Linked DNA regions of Homo sapiens: all the other regions are linked to region 5. Evidence: promoter capture Hi-C in 16 types of primary human blood cells and fetal thymus (Javierre and others, 2016). All regions are on one chromosome and are shown on one strand. The core of a region is centred on a gene start or on the middle of the fragment in contact, and the rest is flanking DNA. Distances in the headings are between cores, read along the strand shown.

The links. The method cuts DNA at HindIII sites, captures the fragments that hold promoters and counts their contacts. A CHiCAGO score of 5 or more calls a contact.
Region 1: a fragment that was not itself captured here is called in contact with the fragment with the promoter of MRPL17 in region 5 in 2 of 17 cell types (naive CD8 T cells and non-activated CD4 T cells); the score reaches 6.5 in naive CD8 T cells.
Region 2: a fragment that was not itself captured here is called in contact with the fragment with the promoter of MRPL17 in region 5 in 15 of 17 cell types (activated CD4 T cells, total CD8 T cells, monocytes and 12 more); the score reaches 11.7 in activated CD4 T cells.
Region 3: a contact is called between a fragment that was not itself captured here and the fragment with the promoter of MRPL17 in region 5, in 4 of 17 cell types (activated CD4 T cells, naive CD8 T cells, total CD4 T cells and 1 more). The highest score is 6.5, in activated CD4 T cells.
Region 4: a contact is called between a fragment that was not itself captured here and the fragment with the promoter of MRPL17 in region 5, in 5 of 17 cell types (activated CD4 T cells, M0 macrophages, non-activated CD4 T cells and 2 more). The highest score is 6.9, in activated CD4 T cells.
Region 6: a contact is called between the fragment with the promoter of DNHD1 here and the fragment with the promoter of MRPL17 in region 5, in 2 of 17 cell types (neutrophils and total CD4 T cells). The highest score is 5.9, in neutrophils.

The regions. Positions count from the first base shown.
Region 1 is chr11:6,476,075-6,479,294 of GRCh38, reverse strand. ARFIP2 (ARF interacting protein 2) reads left to right here. Exons shown (of 8, transcript NM_001376558.2): 4 at 37-155; 5 at 336-557; 6 at 1,097-1,254; 7 at 1,403-1,577; 8 at 2,027-2,776. The coding sequence ends at 2,182. Among named protein-coding and RNA genes, the nearest start is that of ARFIP2, 3.6 kb to the left of the region's middle. The HindIII fragment of the contact is 3,327 bases long and covers 1-2,960 here.
Region 2 is chr11:6,530,976-6,534,442 of GRCh38, reverse strand. DNHD1 (dynein heavy chain domain 1) reads right to left here. Exons shown (of 43, transcript NM_144666.3): 13 at 1,259-1,416; 14 at 270-762. Among named protein-coding and RNA genes, the nearest start is that of DNHD1, 35 kb to the right of the region's middle. The HindIII fragment of the contact is 4,335 bases long and covers 1-3,467 here.
Region 3 is chr11:6,441,657-6,445,199 of GRCh38, reverse strand. No RefSeq gene overlaps it. Among named protein-coding and RNA genes, the nearest start is that of HPX, 2.4 kb to the right of the region's middle. RefSeq lists an enhancer at 1,776-1,845. The HindIII fragment of the contact is 602 bases long and covers 1,635-2,236 here.
Region 4 is chr11:6,550,597-6,553,941 of GRCh38, reverse strand. All of the region lies in intron 24 of DNHD1 (dynein heavy chain domain 1), which reads right to left. Among named protein-coding and RNA genes, the nearest start is that of RRP8, 51 kb to the left of the region's middle. The HindIII fragment of the contact is 1,501 bases long and covers 1,079-2,579 here.
Region 5 is chr11:6,682,090-6,685,416 of GRCh38, reverse strand. MRPL17 (mitochondrial ribosomal protein L17) reads left to right here and starts at 2,077. Exons shown (of 3, transcript NM_022061.4): 1 at 2,077-2,294; 2 at 2,602-2,670; 3 at 3,015-3,327. The coding sequence starts at 2,121. The coding sequence ends at 3,299. RefSeq lists enhancers at 1,917-2,356, 1,773-2,535. The HindIII fragment of the contact is 17,410 bases long and covers 1-3,327 here.
Region 6 is chr11:6,495,751-6,499,025 of GRCh38, reverse strand. It overlaps DNHD1 (dynein heavy chain domain 1), which reads right to left and starts at 1,746. Exons shown (of 43, transcript NM_144666.3): 1 at 1,695-1,746; 2 at 1,359-1,441; 3 at 65-1,255. The coding sequence starts at 810. The HindIII fragment of the contact is 5,087 bases long and covers 1-3,275 here.

The sequences.
Region 1 (3,220 bases), core at 48-2,547, 210 kb after region 5:
TGAGAGAGGCTGGTGTCAGAGAACTTGATCCTTTAGGGTCTGGCCGCCATCCATCTCACAGCACCACTCCTTCTGGCCCTGGAGATGAGGTGGCTCGGGGCATTGCTGGAGAAAAGTTTGACATCGTCAAGAAATGGGGCATCAACACCTATAAGGTAGGATTTAAGCACCTCTCCCTTCCCCAAAACTCCTTATGGGTACCTTTTTCCCTTTTCTTCGTGATCGTAATATCCCATCTGTGGCTGAGAGTAGGAGCCTGGGGGGTGCTGGGGTAGATACCTGTTGTGTGGGGAGGCTGTTAGGGTCTCTGATTTATTCCCCCATTTCCCAATCAGTGCACAAAGCAACTGTTATCAGAACGATTTGGTCGAGGCTCACGGACTGTGGACCTGGAGCTAGAGCTGCAGATTGAGTTGCTGCGTGAGACGAAGCGCAAGTATGAGAGTGTCCTGCAGCTGGGCCGGGCACTGACAGCCCACCTCTACAGCCTGCTGCAGACCCAGCATGCACTGGGTGATGCCTTTGCTGACCTCAGCCAGAAGTCCCCAGAGCTTCAGGTGCCTCACCCAGACCAAAGAGGGTGGGGGAACTGGGCATGGGCCCTCCCAGGCAGTCATTCCTCATCCTCCCTCCCTCCTGCAGCCCACAGGGAGAACCCCTTCAGGGTGGGCCCAGCCCTACCCCCAGCAGCACTCACCTGTGGAGGCAGCCTAAGGGTTTGTACAGAGGTCCAGAAGTTGGAGGGGGTGGGGGAGGGGGCACACTAGGTGCCTCACAAATAACCCCTCTCTGCACTGGGGAGAATGCCTTCGTGCTCAGCCTAATCAGAGCCCCTCCCCTGCTTGCCACACTAGCTCTCAGACTGTTCCAGTCTTGTGAACTTACCCAAGAATGCCCACCACCCACATTCCTACCCCAGGTATCCCCAGGGTGATCCCACTAACTTTCCGGCTAAGAGAGCCTTGCTGGAGGCAGTCCTTGGTTGTTCCAGTTTTGCTGGCTGTGTCCTCCCCGGGGAGGAGGGGAATGAAGGGCTCTACAGCTTCAGTCAGGTAGGGAGTGTTATTCAAGGTCTGTTCCTCCCTTCTGCCCTCAGGAGGAATTTGGCTACAATGCAGAGACACAGAAACTACTATGCAAGAATGGGGAAACGCTGCTAGGAGCCGTGAACTTCTTTGTCTCTAGCATCAACACATTGGTCACCAAGACCATGGAAGACACGCTCATGACTGTGAAACAGTATGAGGCTGCCAGGTGTGGGCACTGGCAGGGCTTAGGGTTTGGGGAGTTGGCTGGTATGGGTGGAAATTTGGGCATTAGGGGCATAAGAATTCAGGAAGGAAAGGAGAGTATGTGTTGAGGATAAAGGAGTGGAGACCAGCCTTTATCACCCCCTCCCCAGGCTGGAATATGATGCCTACCGAACAGACTTAGAGGAGCTGAGTCTAGGCCCCCGGGATGCAGGGACACGTGGTCGACTTGAGAGTGCCCAGGCCACTTTCCAGGCCCATCGGGACAAGTATGAGAAGCTGCGGGGAGATGTGGCCATCAAGCTCAAGTTCCTGGAAGAAAACAAGGTGCCAACCCCACCCCCTTGACCCTAGCCCACCTTTCCATCTGTAACACTAACCTTCCCCTCAGACCCTCCCCATTATTGAATGAGGAAATGCAGCCTAGCTGGGGAGTAGAGTGTTCACCCCCTCAACCCCTGGGCCTTTCCAGATCACCCTCCCTCCAATTCCTGGCCCTTTCCTGTTGGAGGATTTGGCTGCTGGTCCCAGGAACATAACTGGGAAAAATCACCCCCTGAGCTGGGGTACAAAAACCCTAGGCCCACAAATCCAGTGAGGTTTCTTCCATCATACTGACCCTTCTCCTTTGACTCCCTGGGTAGAGTTCAGCCCCTACCCCAAAAGCACCATCAGAGCAGAGTCCTTGTGCCCCTGGTCTGTGCCTGGGCTCAGGCTCATAGACCCTCAAGAAGGGCGCCTGAGTCCAGCCTTAGCTGACCCTGCTGGACCCCCAGATCAAGGTGATGCACAAGCAGCTGCTGCTCTTCCACAATGCTGTGTCCGCCTACTTTGCTGGGAACCAGAAACAGCTGGAGCAGACCCTGCAGCAGTTCAACATCAAGCTGCGGCCTCCAGGAGCTGAGAAACCCTCCTGGCTAGAGGAGCAGTGAGCTGCTCCCAGCCCAACTTGGCTATCAAGAAAGACATTGGGAAGGGCAGCCCCAGGGTGTGGGAGATTGGACATGGTACATCCTTTGTCACTTGCCCTCTGGCTTGGGCTCCTTTTTCTGGCTGGGGCCTGACACCAGTTTTGCCCACATTGCTATGGTGGGAAGAGGGCCTGGAGGCCCAGAAGTTGCTGCCCTGTCTATCTTCCTGGCCACAGGGCTTCATTCCCAGATCTTTTCCTTCCACTTCACAGCCAACGGCTATGACAAAACCACTCCCTGGCCAATGGCATCACTCTTCAGGCTGGGGTGTGCTCCCTGACCAATGACAGAGCCTGAAAATGCCCTGTCAGCCAATGGCAGCTCTTCTCGGACTCCCCTGGGCCAATGATGTTGCGTCTAATACCCTTTGTCTCTCCTCTATGCGTGCCCATTGCAGAGAAGGGGACTGGGACCAAAGGGGTGGGGATAATGGGGAGCCCCATTGCTGGCCTTGCATCTGAATAGGCCTACCCTCACCCACCCACCCAGTTTAATTGTGCTTAGAGCCCAAGAAGATTGGGATCTAGCACTAGGAATAAACCTTTCATAAAAGCAGGCCCAGCGAGGTCAATTTGTCGGGGACTCTAGGAGGGTGGCCTGGGTGGAGACAAGCTCAGTCTAATCAAACACCAGAACCCTATCAAGTCAAAAGAGCTGGGGCCAGGCAGCTGAAGTCACAGGTTTCAGAGATGGTTTGAAGGCCCAGTCTTCTCTCCCAGCCTCAGTTGGAGCCAAAGCTTTGTCCTTTAGCCAGCACCAAGATAGCTATGGATCTTAAGAGCACCAGATCCAGAGGGGGTTGGGTTTGCTGACCTTCATCATGCATTCATTCATACAGCAAATATTTACTGAGTGCTTTCATTTGCCAGGGACTGCGTTAGGCCCTGGGGAAACATCAGTGAATAAAACACGGTCCCTGCCCACAGTGCTTAGGGCCTACTGAGGGAAAGAAGTAACCAGGCAACTACAAAACAGTGATAAGTATTAGGATACAGAAGT
Region 2 (3,467 bases), core at 180-2,679, 150 kb after region 5:
CCCATCACATTCTGATGGAACATTCACTTGTTTGCCTTCCTTACCAGACTGTGAGCCCCCATACCCCCACCCTAAGCACAACACCTGCCATGGTCAATATATGATGTTTTTGTCCTGAAATTTTCATTTATAAAAGACACCAGTGAAGGTGTGTGATTCCCAAGGCTTGCTTGGGGTCATACAGGACACAGAACCCTGAGTTCCAACTCTTACTTCAGTTGAAGGGTCTATCACAGAGTGATAATGGAGGGTGCAGGGATCCTCAGTACCAGTGAAGATGGCATAGGCGTGGTGCAGTTCACTGAGGTCGCTGACTGTGTTCTGGAACTGACGCTCTAGGGAGACGAGCTGGTGCTCAGTACTCCTCTGATCTTGTGTGGGGTCCATAAAGGGACCGGAGAGGGCCTTCGCAAGCAGGCCTTCCAGCTCTGCCAATGCTGCTGCCATCAGCTGCTGCAGCTTGGGCATAATGGCATGTCGCTTGCTGAGCAGGAACTCTGAAGCCTGGCTTTTCTCAAACTGAAATGCCTCCCACATATCCAGAAGCTGTGGGGCAAGCAGAGGGCAGTGGAGTAGATGTGGTTGTGGGGGAGGAGGGCAGGGAGGGATGGGTGACTCCCCGAATTGCCTTCTCACCGAGATGTCCAGTGCTTCATTCTCAGCACTAAAGAGGCTAAAGTGGTTGCGGATGAGTTCGTGGAGTGCCCGTACGTATTCCATTCGCTCCTCCAGCTCGACGTACTGTTCATTGGCTTCATTCAACTGCAGGAATTACAGCATGAGACCGGCAGCCCCACAACCCCATGTACCTCTTTGGTCCCATCCCCAAGGGGAACTCCCACCTTTTGGAGTGAAGTCTCCAGACCCAGTTGCAGCCTTGTAATCAACTGGAATCAGGGGCAATCTCTCCTGAGGGATCTCTCCAGAGGGATCAAATCTCTCTCTGACCCAGATCTCTCTGGTGAAGGGTCCACTTCTCACCCACCACCCCATTACCTTGATGACAAGGCAACAATTTTCTATCTGACTGTCACAGAGAGCACAACTCTCTCATCACACCAGGGCCTCCCTGTGACATGAGGAACCTGAGGGCCACATGGACAGGGTAAGAATTAGCAAGGGTAGATCTCTTAGGCGAGCACAGTTTAAGAGCATCAAGCTCTGCTGGGGGCTCAGCAGAGACCTGAAGAGAGTGTGCTGAGCTTTTGAGCAGGATGGGCCCTGAATAAACTGGGAAGGATGGATGGGGAGAGCCCACCTTCTGGGTGCACTGTGCAATGGCATGAATATCTGAGTTGATGGTTCGGAAGATATGCATGAAATCTGTGAGCTCTGTCATGAGTTGTTGACTGAGGTTCCAGCACTCATTTTGCACGTGTGCAAGAATGTCCTTCCTTATGCTGTTCAGCTTGGATTCTGGAGACAGGAGAGTAAGGTGTGAGGGGACGCATAAAAAAGAAGGGGTGCTGGGGACAGTGCTGTGGTCCAGAGTGGGAGTAGGCTGAATGGCAGGTCAGACCATGAATTATCTCATTTAATGCTTGTTGAATCCCTGCTCAATGTCCAGTCAGCTGCTATGCACTGGGGACTGTGCTCTATACTGGTAGACGAGAGCAAATGAATGAGACAGAAAGTTTCCCCACCCTGAAAAGCTCACAATATGAGGCAGAGACAGACATACAAATGAGCAATCACAAATCAGTGTGATAAATCCACTGTGAGTGCCTGGAGCCTTCAGCCAGTATAGCTAAGAGGTGGGGGTGCCGGGGGGTATCCTGAGAAGGCTGGGCAAGGCCCCTTCAGAGAAGGGAACACTGGAGTTGGATGTGTTGAGTATTAATTCTCCAAAAAGATGAAACAGTGTGTGCAACAGTATGGAAATGACATGTTTGTGAATAGCAGAGTATCCTAGCAGACATAAAAGTATTCTGGTTTTGGAGTCTTACTGCCCTTGCTCTAGAAGAAGGGGACCAAGAAGGTAGTATGATCTGCCTTTTGTTTTTAAGGATTAAAGTAAAGAAAGTCTCAGGTGGATAAGGGGCTAGAAAGTAATCCTGGAAGCTGCCCTTGGCAGTATGAACAACTTTATTATCTCAGAGGGCAGGGATAACACCCATATGATACCTCATAAAATCTAAGATCCCGTTGTAAGAAGCACCATTATTTTATATACCACTAACAAAGAAAAAAAACTGATGCCATCTAAACTCTAACACATCTTCAATCATGAGACACCTTTAAAGTTCAGAGATGTTAAAATATGCACAGAATAGGAAAAATACAATATAGAAATATGGTACACCAAATAGAGTATAGAGTGCTTTCTACATACCAGACACTATTTCAAGTACTTTAATTATATTTTATCCTCACAAATTCCCTTTGAAGTAAATACTATTATTTTACAGATAAGCAAACTGAAGCTCAGAGAGGTTATGTCACTTGATCAACATCACACAGTGGCAGAGCAAGGATTCAGACTCAGGCAGCATGGCTCCACTTCATTATATTTTAAATATAAACATGTTTATGTTATAAATATAAATGTAAACATAAAAATATATGTTTATAAAAAGTATTTAAAAATATTTTTTATGTTATGTGCAAAGTAAACTGACCGATCCTCTATTAGCATCTCTGCAACTAGTAAGTAAAATAGTGAGTTTGGGGGACAGATAATTGAGACATACTGGGTATGTCACTTTCAGAGACTTGGAGGAAGTAACCAAGATGACTGGGTACTAAGACCTGATAATAAGAAAACCTGCTGAGAGGAAGCCTATTGAGGGACAACCTATATCAAACAGAACATGAAGATCTAAACTCATCCTTTTTCACACTGTCCCTTTGGAACATAACAGTAACTAGGCCATTGCAATGCTGCCACATTTGTTTGCTTGTTTGTTTGTTTGTTTGTTTATGGTGCTGCTTTTGGACCAGTAGCAACAGGCAGATGAAGGCAGATGGGAGCTCAACAGTGACACCGTATGGTATAAAGGAGCAATGCATTGATAAAATACCAGGACTCCTTGGGATTAGAAGCTGGAGATGGATAAAAACAGATTTAAGAGATACTTAGGGGGCAGAAGAATGACAAGGATTTGGAGACAGGTTGGATGTAGTAAGGTCAAGGAGAGGGAGGAGTAAAGGGTGACCCCAAGTTTCTGGTGAAGCTAATTCGTCAGAGTGTATAATTACGCCATTTGTTGTTCAAGGGAGTTCAGGAAGAAGAGAAACGACAGAGTTAAGTCAGAGGGTTAGATAAAATTAGATCAGCAAGAAGGATGAGAGTAGATACAAGGGGATAAGGTGAAATGAAAAAAATATTAAGCACCTACTGCATGCCACACTCAATGCTAAGAGTATTGCAAATAATATCTTAGTCATCCTTACTATAACCCTGTGAGTGACTGTGTTATCATGCCCAGCTTACAAATAAAGAAACTAAAACACAGTAATCTGAAGTT
Region 3 (3,543 bases), core at 686-3,185, 240 kb after region 5:
TTTGAGAGCTGGTTGTTAAAACACAGCTATTATTAAAAATCAAACTATATAAACTTAAATACATTCTATTAAAACCAAAGATAATCAGTACTTAAAAGTAATCACTTCCTAATTATTTTACTACATTTTACTATCCCCTGTGCTCTTGTGATTATTTATATCTATCATATCTGTATGGTAGGAATATTGTATGCAGTGTGTTACTGTACATCCCTTCCCAACTCTACATTTGGTGATGTCTTGTCGGTAGCTTAAAGTTGGCCATGGTAGGAGTATTTATATCACAAAAATCTGCAAATGTTACAAATCAGTGCTTTTTCCCCCTAGAGAGCAGTTGTTAAATATTTGCCAGCGAACCCCTTGATAAGAACACACTATCCTTGTAGGAACACACCCCTAGGAGTCAGGCACCCAGGGTTTAAATCATGGCTCTGCCACTTGCTAGCAATGTGATTTGGCTAAGATACCTAATATTGGCTTCCTCATTCATAAAACGGGACTCATAGTGCTACCTTTGTCTGTTTGTGCTGCTATAACAAAATGCCCATGACTGATGATTTATAATGAACAAAAATGTATTTCTCACAGTTCTGGAGGCTGGGAAGTCCAAGATTAAGGTGCCCAGCAGGTTTGGTGTGTGGTGAGGTCCTGGTCTCTGCTTCTATGATGGCATTTTGAACGCTGCATCCTCTAGAGGAGACAAATGCTGTTCATCACGTGGCAGAAAAGCAGAGGAGAGAGAATCCACTTCTGAAAGCCCTTTTTATAGCAGCATTAATCCATTCATCGGGCAGAGCTCTCATGACCTAAACACCTCTCATGAGGCCGCACCTCCAAACACTGGCACATTGGGAATTAAGCTTCCAACACATCAATTCGGAGGGGACAGAAACATTCAAACCATAGCAAGTGCTATATACATGCTATATATATATATATATAGCACTAAGGCCCATTATAGACTGAGCAAGAGGAGGGGTCAGCTGGGATCAGCAAGCTCTTTGGCTGCCTGGAGCTTTATCCCTAAGCCTCCTACCCCTGAGGAAAGGAGACATTCAGTTCCTGCTCCCTGGAGTATACAGCCACAGACTTCAGGCCCAGCACACCTAGCACTCAGTGGGCCCAGGAGAAATGGCTAAGGTCAGAGAACTCATATCAACAGCAGAGCAGGCTGGACATAGACATAGCCATTCCAAGGGACAGTGGGTCAGTGTCCAGCTTACATCTGGCTCTTGGCAATGCAGGAGGAAGCTCTGTCATTTGCAGACATTTGCAGGTTCGTGTTCAGACCCCTTCTGGGAGAAGTAAAAAAGCTGCTGGTTAGGAGGATAGAGAAGACTACCCAGGAAAAGAGATGGTTGAATTTCTCTGGGCTCGAGTTCCCAGAGAAGCAAGAGATTGAGGTCCCCAAATCCACTCTGGGCAGCAAGGTTTGCAGAAGAAGGGAAAGAAGCATAGAAGGGTGTGTACCACTAAGGATGCACAGCCAGGGCTGAGAGGAGTGTGGGACAAAGGCTGTGGAGAGCTAGTTTCAGAGAGGAAAAACTCCTGGGCTCTGGCCTCTAGTTGAAGGGCGGGAGTGCACTGATTCCTGCGGCCTGCAGGGGGTGCTCAGGCCCAAGTACCGACAAGCTTCTTTCCTCAGCCCCAGTAGGAAGCCTGGGAAGGACCCAGGACCCACAGAAGGGGCCTCCTGTAGTGAGGGGAAGAGAAGCAAGGCTGCTGAGTCTTGACTACCCTGAGAAGTCTTGGCTTGTACCCTGTGACCAACACCAGGGTGGCCAACATATCCACAGCCCTGGGTTCCCAAATGTGTACAATGTTCTACTTTCAACTCCTGCCCAAAACTTGAACTTCAACCTGGACTGCCTGCAGTGCAGATGACTCTGCTGGCCTAGTCCCTGGGTGGAGCAGGAGGATCCAGTAATGGTTTCTAAGCCATTCTCGGGTACACAGGTGAATTAGGAAGCAACAGGGAAAAGGGACCATAAAGTAGTATTCTGGGATAGATGGATCCGGGGTGCTGTGAGGGGGACCACACCAGGTGTGTGGGGAAGGGGTCAAGCTGAAAAATGATCATCCAGTATATGTGCTGTATGCCCTCAGACAGCCCTGTTAGGCCAGAAGGAGACTGCACCCTTGGACTGGCAAGTCAGTGCAAGGCCCTGCTAATAGGACTATTGAAGACTCTCACTATGGGTTTTCTGTGGGGTGTTTGTTTCTTGGGGTGAAAGCTTCCCTCTCCCCAGGCAGGCCCAGCAAAATCTGTAGGATTCAGACAGGGTTCTGACAGCTGAAGACAAGTTGTTGAGGAAATTCCTGATGGAGGATCATGGGGTGCTCAGGAGGGAGAATATAAGGTTTCAGAGGCTGAGAGGGAAAGAAAAGGTGAGGGGGAGTCTTAGAATAGTGGCTCCCATTGCCCAACACCCAGAAAGAAGACATGCCCTGCAATGGGGAGAAGGTGAGTATGAGACATTGGCTGTAGCAGCGATGGCATTGCCCAGGCTGCCAAGGACTCAGAGAGTCCAGCCTTGCCCACTGACCTATGAGGAGGGAATGATGTTCACAGCACATTTTCATTCGTAAGTCAGGAGAGGACATTGAGCCTGATGGCAGAGGCCTGGTGACATGTTGTTCCAGAGGTTCCGGAATGTGTGTTTTCCTGTTGGAAGGAAACTTCGCAGAGTAGAAAAGGGATCTGAGACTTTTGGTAAGATTATATATGGGACTGTCAGGGGTCTGGAGCCATCTGTGAGGGATCAGGGCCCTTTCAGCCTTGGCTAGGGAGCAGGGGTCCTGGAACTTCATCCTGGCCCATAGCTGAGTCTGCCCATAATTCTTTTCTGACTCACTAGGCAAATCTCACACAGAAATGGGGCAGCTTTGGGAGTGGGCCCAGGAAGTACTGAGGATAGCAGGTGAGATCCCAGGAAGAGATGGATGTGGGGCCGAGACACTGGAGAGAGAAACAGGACTGTCAGATAAAGGGCGTCTGTGACTCCTAGATCTCATTATGCCTACTACCATAACCTACCCCCAATTCCTAATATTCTCCTACCCTAGAGGGGGGGAAATTGTCAGAAATTTGGCTGCAACACTAGCAACACTACTCAGTACTTGAAATGCATTTTTGCATTTTTTTCATTCAACAAATATTTCTGGAACAACTCTTATATGCCAGGCACTATTTTAGGAGTCAGGGATATATAATGGTAAACAAGACAGGCAAAACAAAGCAAAGCAACAACAACCATCACCAGATAAGTAGACAGATGAAAGAATTTCAAGTTTTAGTAAGTAAAATAAAACAAGCAAGGGTCTGAAATGGCTAGATAAGGTGGTCAAGAAAGGCTTCATTGAGAAGGTAGCATTTAAGCAGGAGTCAGCTAGAAATATTGTGAAATTCCAGTTACAGTTCTATTTGTTCTGGGTTGGTTAAATAAAGCTTTTTCCCCCAAGGTGGAAACTACCAAGAAAGACTAATTACTAGTAGTGGTGGTGCTCTCTGGAAGAGAGACACCTCCTGTTTCTGCCTCATTA
Region 4 (3,345 bases), core at 580-3,079, 130 kb after region 5:
ATTGCATTGAATCTATAGATCATTTGGGGGAGAATGAAGACCTTAATGATACTGACTCTTCTGATCCATGAACATCATATATTTCTCCATTTATTTACATTTCCTCTATCTCAGCAATATTTAGTCATTTTCAGTGTACAGATCTTGAATGCTTTTAATTAAATTTATTCCTAAGTATTTTATGCTTTTAAATGACTTTTAAGTGATATTTTAAAATTTCAATTTCCAATGTTTTGTTACTAGGATATAGAAGTACAAATGATTTCAATGGATTGATTCTGTATCCTGTGACCCTGATGAATTAACTTATTTATTGTAGTAGTTTTTTATGGGGTTTAAAAAAATATTCCTTTGGGGTCTCTATGTAGACAATCATATTACATGCCAATACAGACAGTTTTAACTTGTCTTTTCTAATTTTAAAAGCTTTTATTTCTTTTTCTTAATTGCGTCGATGTGGTCTCCAGTACAGTGTTGAATAGAAGCAGTGAGTATGTTCTTGCCTTTTAACTGATTTTAGGGGGACAGTATTCAATATTTAACCATTAAGTATGTATTTAGCTGTAAGTATAATAGATGCTTTTCATCAAATTGAGAAAGTTATCTTCTATTCCTAGTTTCCTGGGAGTTATGGAATAGTGTTGGAATTTTGTCAAGTGATTTTTATCTACTAATATTACTTACTCATTTGCTCCTTTATTCTGTTAATGTGAGCTACACTGATTGATTTTTCAATGTTTAGTCAGCTTTGCCTTCCCAGGATAGACTCCGTTTGGTCTTAAGATATTATTCTTTTTGTATGTTGCTGAATTTTATTTAATAATATTTCAGTGAGGATTTATTTTTGCATTTAGGTTTATGAAAGATAACAGTTTATTTCTTTGCTTGAAATGTCTTCATCATGGCTTAGTATTCTCCATTTTCTGAAAAAGTATATATAAGTTGTACTTTTTTTCTAAATATTTGATATAATTCAACTGTATAACCATCTGGGACTGGAAACATTTATTATGCATTCAAACTTTTCTTAGGTATGAGGCTGTTCATTTTCTATTATTTTTCTTCTTTTGTTCAAGCTTTGACAAGTTATGTTTTTGTAAGGCATGTGATATGGTTTGGCTCTGTGTCCCCAACCAAATTTTGTCTTGAATTGTAATCCCCATATGTTGAGGGAGGGACCTGGTGGGAGGTGAGTGGATCACGGGGCCGGCTTCCCCCATGCTGTTCTCATGATAGTGAGCAATTTCTCATAAGTTCTGATGGTACATCTCTTCACCCCACCCCGCCCCCGCCAACTGCTATGTAAGATGTGCCTTGCCTCCCCTTCGCCTTTTGCCACGACTTTAAGTTTCCTGAGGGCTCCCCATCCATGCGGAACTGTGAGTCAATTAAACCTACTTATATATATATATTTTTTGGGACGAAGTTTTGCTCTTGTCACCCAGGCTGGAGTGCAATGGCGTGATCCTGGCTCGTTGCAACCTCTGCCTCCCAGGTTCAAGCGATTCTCCTGCCTCAGCCTCCCAAGTAGTTGGGATTACAGGTGACCCCCACCACACCCAGCTAATTTTTGTATTTTTAGTAGAGATGGGGTTTCACCATGTTGGCCAGGCTGGTCTCAAACTCCTGACCTCAAGGGATCAACCTGCCTCAGCCTCCCAAAGTGCTGGGATTACAGGCGTGAGCCACCATGCCTGGCCTAACCCTCTTTTCTTTATGAATTACCCAGTCTCAAGTAGTTCTTTATTGCAGTGTGAAAACAGACTAATACAGCATGTATCCATTTCACCTAAGTTGCTAAATTTATTAGCATAAAGTTTTTCATAATTTTCCCTTATTATCCATTTTTTAAAACTTTTTTTTTTAAATGAGGGTCCCACTATGCTGCCCAGGCTGGTCTTGAACTCCTGGCCTTAAGAAATCCTCCTGCCTAAGCCTCCCTCCCTAGTAGCTGGGATTACAGGTGCATGCCACCATGCCTGGCTCCCCTTTTTTTTTTTGGAGACGGAGTCTCGCTCTGTCACCAGGCTGGAGTGCAGTGGTGCAAATCTCAGCTCACCGCAACTTCCACCTCCCTGGTTCAAGCAATTCTCCTGCCTCAGCCTCCCGAGTAGCTGTGATTACAGGTACATGCCACCATGCCCAGCTAATTTTTGCATTTTTAGTAGAGACGGGGTTTCACCATGTTGGCCAGGATGGTCTCCATCTCCTGACCTCGTGATCTGCCCTCCTTGGCCTCCCAAAGTGCCGGGATTACAGGCGTGAGCCACAGTGCCCGGCCCTGGCTCCCTTTTTATCCTTTTAAATATCTTTAATAAAACCTCTTTCATTCCTGATATTCAAAATTTATGTTTTCCTTTTCATTTCTTGATTTGTGTTAATAGGCGATTGTCAATTTTATCTTTTTCAAAGAAACAAAATATGGCTTTGTTGATATTCTCCATTGTTTGTATGTTTTTCTATTTCACTGATTTCTGCTCTGTTCTTTATTATTGATTTCCTTTTAATTGCTTTGGGTATAACTTGCTCTTCTTTTTCTAGAGTCTTAAGCTGAAAATTTAGGTCATTGATTCCAAGCTTTTCTCTCTAAGATAGATATTTAAAGCTATAACCTTTAGTTGCATCTCACAAATTTTGATATGTTTTGTTTTCATTATTATTTAGTTCAAAACATTCTCTAATTTCTCTTGTAATTTCTTTTTTGGTACATTATTTAGAAGTGTGTTAATTTTAAAGAATTTGGAAATTCTCTAGGCATCTTATCAATATTTGTATTGTTATGGTCAGATAAAATATTATTTAAAATGTTAATCCTTTGAAATTTGTTGAGACTTATTTTGTAACCCAGCATATGGTCTATCTTGGTGAATGTTTCATGTGCATTTGAAAAGAAGGTGCATTTTGCAGTTGGTGAGTATAATGTTTTGTAAATGTCAGTGTGTTGCTAGTGTTATTCAGATCTTTAATGTCCCTACTTTCTTGCTCCTTGTCTTATCAGTTATTGTGAGAGGCATATTAATTTCTTAATATGATTTCAGATTTACTATGTCTCTTTTGTTTCTATTGGCTTTTTTTCCCTATACTTAAATGTCTATTTTAGGTGTGGACACATTTAAGACTTTTGTCTTTCTGATGAGTTGAATCTTTCAATTATGAGATGTCCTTTTCTATCTCTGGTAATATCCTTTGTCTTAAAGTGCTTTGGTATTAATATTGCCACATCAACTTCCTTATGCAAACTATTTCTGTAGTAAATATTTTGCATTAAAAACTTCTTTTAATCTATCTGTGTTTTTATATTTAAAGTGCATCTTTTGGACAGCGTACAGCTATATAGATCTCAGG
Region 5 (3,327 bases), core at 828-3,327:
GTCTCTACTAAAAATACAAAAAAAATTAGCCAGGCATGGTGGTGGGCGCCTGTAATCCCAGTTACTTGTGAGGCTGAGGCATGAGAATCGCTTGAACCCAGGAGGTGGAGGTTGCAGTGAGCCGAGACCGCACCATTGCACTCCAGCCTGGGCAACAAGAAAGAAACTCCGTCTCAAAAAAATATATATATATCCTGGTGAAAACATCTTAGTGAAATTTTTCAACTGCAAAGACAATTGAAAACTACAAGAATTGCTCCCAAAGAAACAAAACATGAATGGTAATTGTAATTTCTGTAATTTATTGTAAATTTCTTTAATTGTGAAGTGTGATTTGTATAAATCTGTCAATGTATTTATATGTTCATGACTTTTCCTATTTGCATATTTGTTCCTTCATATTAAAGAAACTTTTCAAAATTAAAATTAGCAAAGAAGTGTTCTTTGGTCACCTATAAGCTGACAAAGTGACAAATCTATACGTCTACTGAATATGTACATGTAAAGAGGAGTGAATTCATTTCCTAAGACTGCTGTAACAAACTATCACAAACTGTGGAACTTAAAACAACAGAAATTTATTGTTTTGTGGCTCTGGAGGCTAGAAGTAAGAAAGCGATGTGTTAGCAGCAGGGTCATGCTCTCTGACAGATCTGAAAAAGAATGCGTTTTATACCTTTCCCTTGGCTTCAGGTGTGCTCCAGCAATCCTTGGTGTTCATTCATTGATTTGCAACTGCTTGACTCCATAATCTCTGCTTTCAAGGTCACATGGCTTTCTGCCTGTATGTCTCTGTCTTTACCTGGTCAGCATCACCCTGTGTCCATCTCTCTCTCTTCATGCGCATTTTTTTTTTTTTTTTTTTTGAGATAGAGCCTCACTCTGTCGCCCAGTCTAGAGTGCAGTGCCCGATCTCAGCTCACTGCAACCTCCACCTCCCGGGTTCAAGCTATTCTCCTGCCTCAGCCTCCCGAGTAGCTAGAATTACAGGCATGAGCCACCACGCCCGGCTAATTTTTGTGTTTTTAGTAGAGACGGGGTTTCGCCATGTTGGCCAGGCTGGTCTCGAATTCCTGACCTCAGGTGATCCGCCCGCCTCGGCCTCCCAAAGTGCTGGAATTACAGGAGTGAGCCACCGTGCCCGGCCTGCATATATGTATGTACGTATATATGTGTCTATCTATCTAGCTAGCTAGACACTAGGCATTTTGGATTAGGCGCCCACCTATGCCTGCATGACTTCATCTTAACAAATGACATCTGCAATGACCCTATTTCCACATAAGGTCACATTCTGAGTTACTGCAGGTTAGGACTTAACATAGCTTTTTGGGGACGGGAAGAATCATGGGGAAGACACAATTCAACCCATAACAAGGAATAATTTTGACAGTCATTGCCAATTTGCAGATGTTAAGGCTCAAAAACAAACTATAATATTATTGTTCATTAACACATAAATGTGTAGGTATGTTTTTTCCCCTTAAAAAGACACACTGGTGTAATTAAAAACAATCTACTACTTTTCCCTTTAGTGCTGTAATTTTTTTAACTGGAGTGATTACTTCAATAAAAGAAAAATTTCACTATCTGCGTTTCTTTTCCGGGCATCGTTATTATCCATCTCACCATTACTACTGAAAATCACTGTGTTAAAAACAATGCGTACAGGTGTCAACCAGGCCAGCTGGCCACTGCTGGACCCGGTAGGGCCGTCAGCCCGCAGGACCCCGAACCCTCCGGGTGCCTTTCTCTTCAGACGCTCTCTTTCCCAGGAGTCTCCGCGGCGGAGCGCCCCATCGCCCTAAATGCCACTGGCTGACGCAGCCCCAAAAAAAACCCGATGGCCCGCTTATCCCACACTAGGGGGCGCCTGGTTCTTCGGCCGCCACAGAGCGCTCTGGATGCCTGAAGCCCGCCCAGCTCGCCGCCTCTGGAAAAGCTCAACACCGTTTCTCCGCCCTTCCCGAGATTGCCAACGAGGCAGGCTCTGATGCGCATGCGCAAACACGTTCACCACGCTCCGAGCTAAGGCGCATGCGTTCCCTGAAATTGCCGCCACCGGCTCTACCTTCCAGTTTCCAGTTCCGGCCTCCAAGGGGCGGGCAGAAGTTGGAAACATGCGGCTGTCGGTCGCTGCAGCGATCTCCCATGGCCGCGTATTTCGCCGTATGGGCCTCGGTCCCGAGTCCCGCATCCATCTGTTGCGGAACTTGCTCACAGGGCTGGTGCGGCACGAACGCATCGAGGCACCATGGGCGCGTGTGGACGAAATGAGGGGCTACGCGGAGAAGGTGAGGAGCGCGGCCCTCTTGTCCACTCTGCGGGTCTGGTCTGAGGGGGCGGAGCCGGCTGCAAGTGGAAAGGGACCGGGACCAACCTGGTAAACCATTCCCCAAGTCTGAGTCCCCCAGAACCTTGGGCTGAACCCGCCCCTCCATCGCCTCTAATGGAAGACTGGTTAGGGCTGCGGAGTTAGGGGTGGCGTAGATTGGAGATGCTTGGCTAGTGGAAAGAATGGATTGCCTTCCGGCATTAGAGAAATTAGATTGGCACCTTGTTTTCTTGCTCGGTTGGATCCGTGATGTTATGTCCTCACAGCTCATCGACTATGGGAAGCTGGGAGACACTAACGAACGAGCCATGCGCATGGCTGACTTCTGGCTCACAGTGAGTGCGACCTATCTGCCTTCAAAATCCCACCCTTTGCTCCCTGGGGGTGGGGGTTGGAAAAAGGAGAACTATGCAGAATTAAACTTGGGTACTCACTTATGGGCCAGTGCTGCTAACTAAATTAGAAACTGTGTCTTAAGTTAGTTGAAGTCGATGTGAATATACCTCTGCACAACTGCCTATAAACGACCCCTTTGTGTAACACTGACTATGCCAGATTGGCGAGGGGAGGGGGAGGTCTTTCTATGTGTGGATGGACCTTACCTTTGGGAATGGTGTAAAGTTAAATGCCTCTGCAGTTTTGCCTGACTCTGCTGTCTCTTGGATAATTCTCCCTCTAGGAGAAGGATTTGATCCCAAAGCTGTTTCAAGTACTGGCCCCTCGGTACAAAGATCAAACTGGGGGCTACACAAGAATGCTGCAGATCCCAAATCGGAGTTTGGATCGGGCCAAGATGGCAGTGATCGAGTATAAAGGGAATTGCCTCCCACCCCTGCCTCTGCCTCGCAGAGACAGCCACCTTACACTCCTAAACCAGCTGCTGCAGGGTTTGCGGCAGGACCTCAGGCAAAGCCAGGAAGCAAGCAACCACAGCTCCCACACAGCTCAAACACCAGGGATTTAACTGGATCTGAAGAGTCTGCAGCCCTTAA
Region 6 (3,275 bases), core at 497-2,996, 190 kb after region 5:
AGGCACCCATAAAACAGCAACTTTTTCTCCTCTGCTCAAGCCCTAGACTGAGTCCCTCACTTACCTGGTCTCTTTTCTTCCAACAGGCTCCACCTCTGCATTGTCAGTGTCACTGCTTTCATACCGTACAGGGATGTCCGCTGCCAGTGCCAAGGGAAGGAGACTAAGTCCATCCAGCCACACAGCCTCTTCTAGGGCCACCTGAGCACCAACAATGCCCAGGCAGCGCTGTAGCTCAGGCAGTGTCAATGGTCGCAGCCAGGTGGCCAGCTCCTCCTTTACTTGCTGCCTGCTCCACTGGGCCTGCACAAAAGGGCAAGCTGGGCATGGGGGCCTGTGATGGAGCCTCCGCTTCTGGGGACAGCAGTCAGCATGGGAAGCACTGTCTAACAAAGAGCTGTCTGGAGGAAAGGCCTGGACAATGGCACCTAGCAGGTCCAGATGGAGGTGGGTTTGGACCCAGGGTGCCCAGCAGTACAGCTGCTCCAGGAAGGGCAGCAAATCAAGGTGGCCAACTAGCAACTCACGATATGGAGGCAGTAGACCCAGTACTGCATGAAGATAGCGCCAAGCTGCAGGGCTACTGTCCTGCAACACAGCTGAGAACAGAGTTCGGAGCTCAGCTAGCAGGAGTTCCAGCACTGTGGGCTGCTCTGACTCAGTCACTGGCTTCACGAACTGCCTCTGTTTCTGCTGGCAGGCCAAGGGCTGTTCTTTGCTGTCCAAGACACATATGGAGTGCCAAGACTTAAGGGAATCAGATGATGTCTCATCAGAAGACAAACCTACCCTCCTCTCCTCCGGGACCATGAGGAGCTGGGCATTCAACTGCTGTCGAAGTGACCTTGCCCATAGCTCAGGCTCCAACTGCCAGTTCCAGGATGCCAGATGCGGGGCCTCACCTGCATGGGCCAGCCCAGCAGAGGGGCCAGAGAAGGGACCTCAGGCTCTGGGCAGGGGATGGTCAGAGTCAATGGGGTTAGGAGGAAGAAAGGACCTGGGACAGGGAAATAGATGGAGCTACAGAGCAGAGCCAGACCAGCAGAGAGCCTTTCCTGAGACCCTCAGGCCCTCCCTACTGCTTCCCCAAAGACTCTGGTAAGGAGCAGGCCTAAGACAGACGTGAGAGCCCTCCTTGCAGAAGAGTTCCTTCTTACCTCCCAGTACCCTGTCCCCCTCACCTGGCCTAGGGGGGTTAGGAGGCAAGGCAAGGGAAGAGAGCCCGATCTGCTGATGAGGTTTCATTGAAGAGTGCCTGCTGGAGCAGTGAATGAACTTAGACTTGAGTTCCAGTCTGAGGCTCACCCTAATCATAGCCACCCATACACGGAGAGACTCGCACACAGACGTGCAATCACCTGAAGAGGCAAACTGACACACCGACAGAGCTCACTCTGAACCTCGGTCACAGCAAGGAATCTGCACTCGAGCTGGCGATCGCCTGAAAAACGGGTTAACAGGTCGTCACTCGAAGGCAGCAGAGCCCCAGTCCCATGACGTCTTCGCCCACAGCCTAAGGAGGTCGTGAAGACAGAAAGCCGAGGAGCAGGCACAGCAAATGATGGTCAGGATGCAGGTAGGGGAAGACGTTAACAGGCAAAGGAGGGGGCTGGGAGAGCGGGGAAGAGGAGGCGGACTCTGTGGGAGGGGGTCCTAGGGAACAAAGAGAAATGGATCCGGAGCCGAGGACTCACCCGCAGCTCCACCCGCACCCAGCTGTTAGAACCGTTACAAGATTCCAGAAGGACCGAGTCTTTGCCAGGAGCATCCGGGGGAGCCAGAAAGAGGAGGGGCCAGGGTCCGATATGGGCGGGGCCGAGAGGGCAGAGCCCAAGCCTGGAGGGGCAGAACTAGGTTCAACCTGTGGGCTAAGGCTTGCCTGGGACAGGGACCTGTAGAGGACCAGGCGGGGTCTGAACTGCACGTGCAGTACGGTTGACTCGGGAGACTAGCAATCCAGAGGGTGTCGTAAGCAGGTGTTTATATCCATTCGCTGAGTATCTAAACTAGTGCCAGGTCTTTGGTATGTCTTTGGTACTCCCCCATCCCCACCCCCAACGTATCCATCTACCCTATCCCACCTCCCCAAAAGAAGCCCGAATAAAACAAAATCCTTGATCTCAAGGAGCTCAACATCTATTTGGCACGGGGGGAGGGGGATTTTTTGGGGAAGGGCTTATGGAGGGGCTAATTTTTAAAAATTAAGTTGAATGAGGCCGGGCGCGGTGGCTCATGCCTGTAATCCCAGCATTTTGAGAGGCCGAGGCGGGTGGATCACGAGGTCAGGAGATCGAGACCATCCTGGCTAACACGGTGAAACCCTGTCTCTACTAAAAATACAAAAAAATTAGCCGAGCGTGGCGGTGGGCGCCTGTAGTCCCAGCTACTGGGGAGGCTGAGGCAGGAGAATGGCGTGAACCCAGGAGGCGGAGCTTGCAGTGAGCAGAGATCGCGCCACTGCACTCCAGCCTGGGCGACAGAGGGAGACTCTATCTCAAAAAAAAAAAAAAAAAAAAAAAAGTTGATGATTAAAATAAAAAAAGAAATTCAGCCCACCTCTCCTCTGAAATCAGATTAGTATATCCAACTGCCTACTTAATGTCTCCACCTGGAGAGCTTATAGGTATCTCAAACTTAAAATGTCCAAAAGCAGGCTCCTAACCACCCTTTCCCCACCAAAGAAATGCTGCTCCTTTCACTGTCTTTCCCACCTCAGTCAATGGCAAATCCATTCTTTCTGGTTTCTCACACCAAAACCTTGGAGTCAGCTTTGAGACCTCTTCCAAACCCCTTCTTTCTCTTTCCCTCTTCTTTTTCCCTTTCTCTTTCTCTCTCTCCCCCTCCCTCCATAAGTAATCCTTCAGGAAATTCTGCTGGTTGTGCCTTCAGAATATATCCAGAATCCAACTATTTCCCACCATCTTAAGTACTACAACCTTGGTCTAAGCTGCTATCATTTCTCACCTGGGTTTTTCCACAGCCTTTGAACTGTTCTCCTTGCCTCAGATCCTTCTCATGCTTCTCACCATTGCCCCTACAATCCATTCTTTTTAGAGCAGCCAGTGATCCTTTTCAAATATAGGCAGATCCTATAACTCCTCTGCTCATAGCTCACTAATGCCCCCTCATCTAATTCCTTCAGCTGAAGGCCAAAGTCCTATCATGGCCTACAAATTGCTGATAACTGCCTGCTACCTCTGTAGGCTTCTCTCTTCACATTCACACTCTACTACTGCTGTGCCTGAATCACACCAGCCATACCCCCACCTCACAGA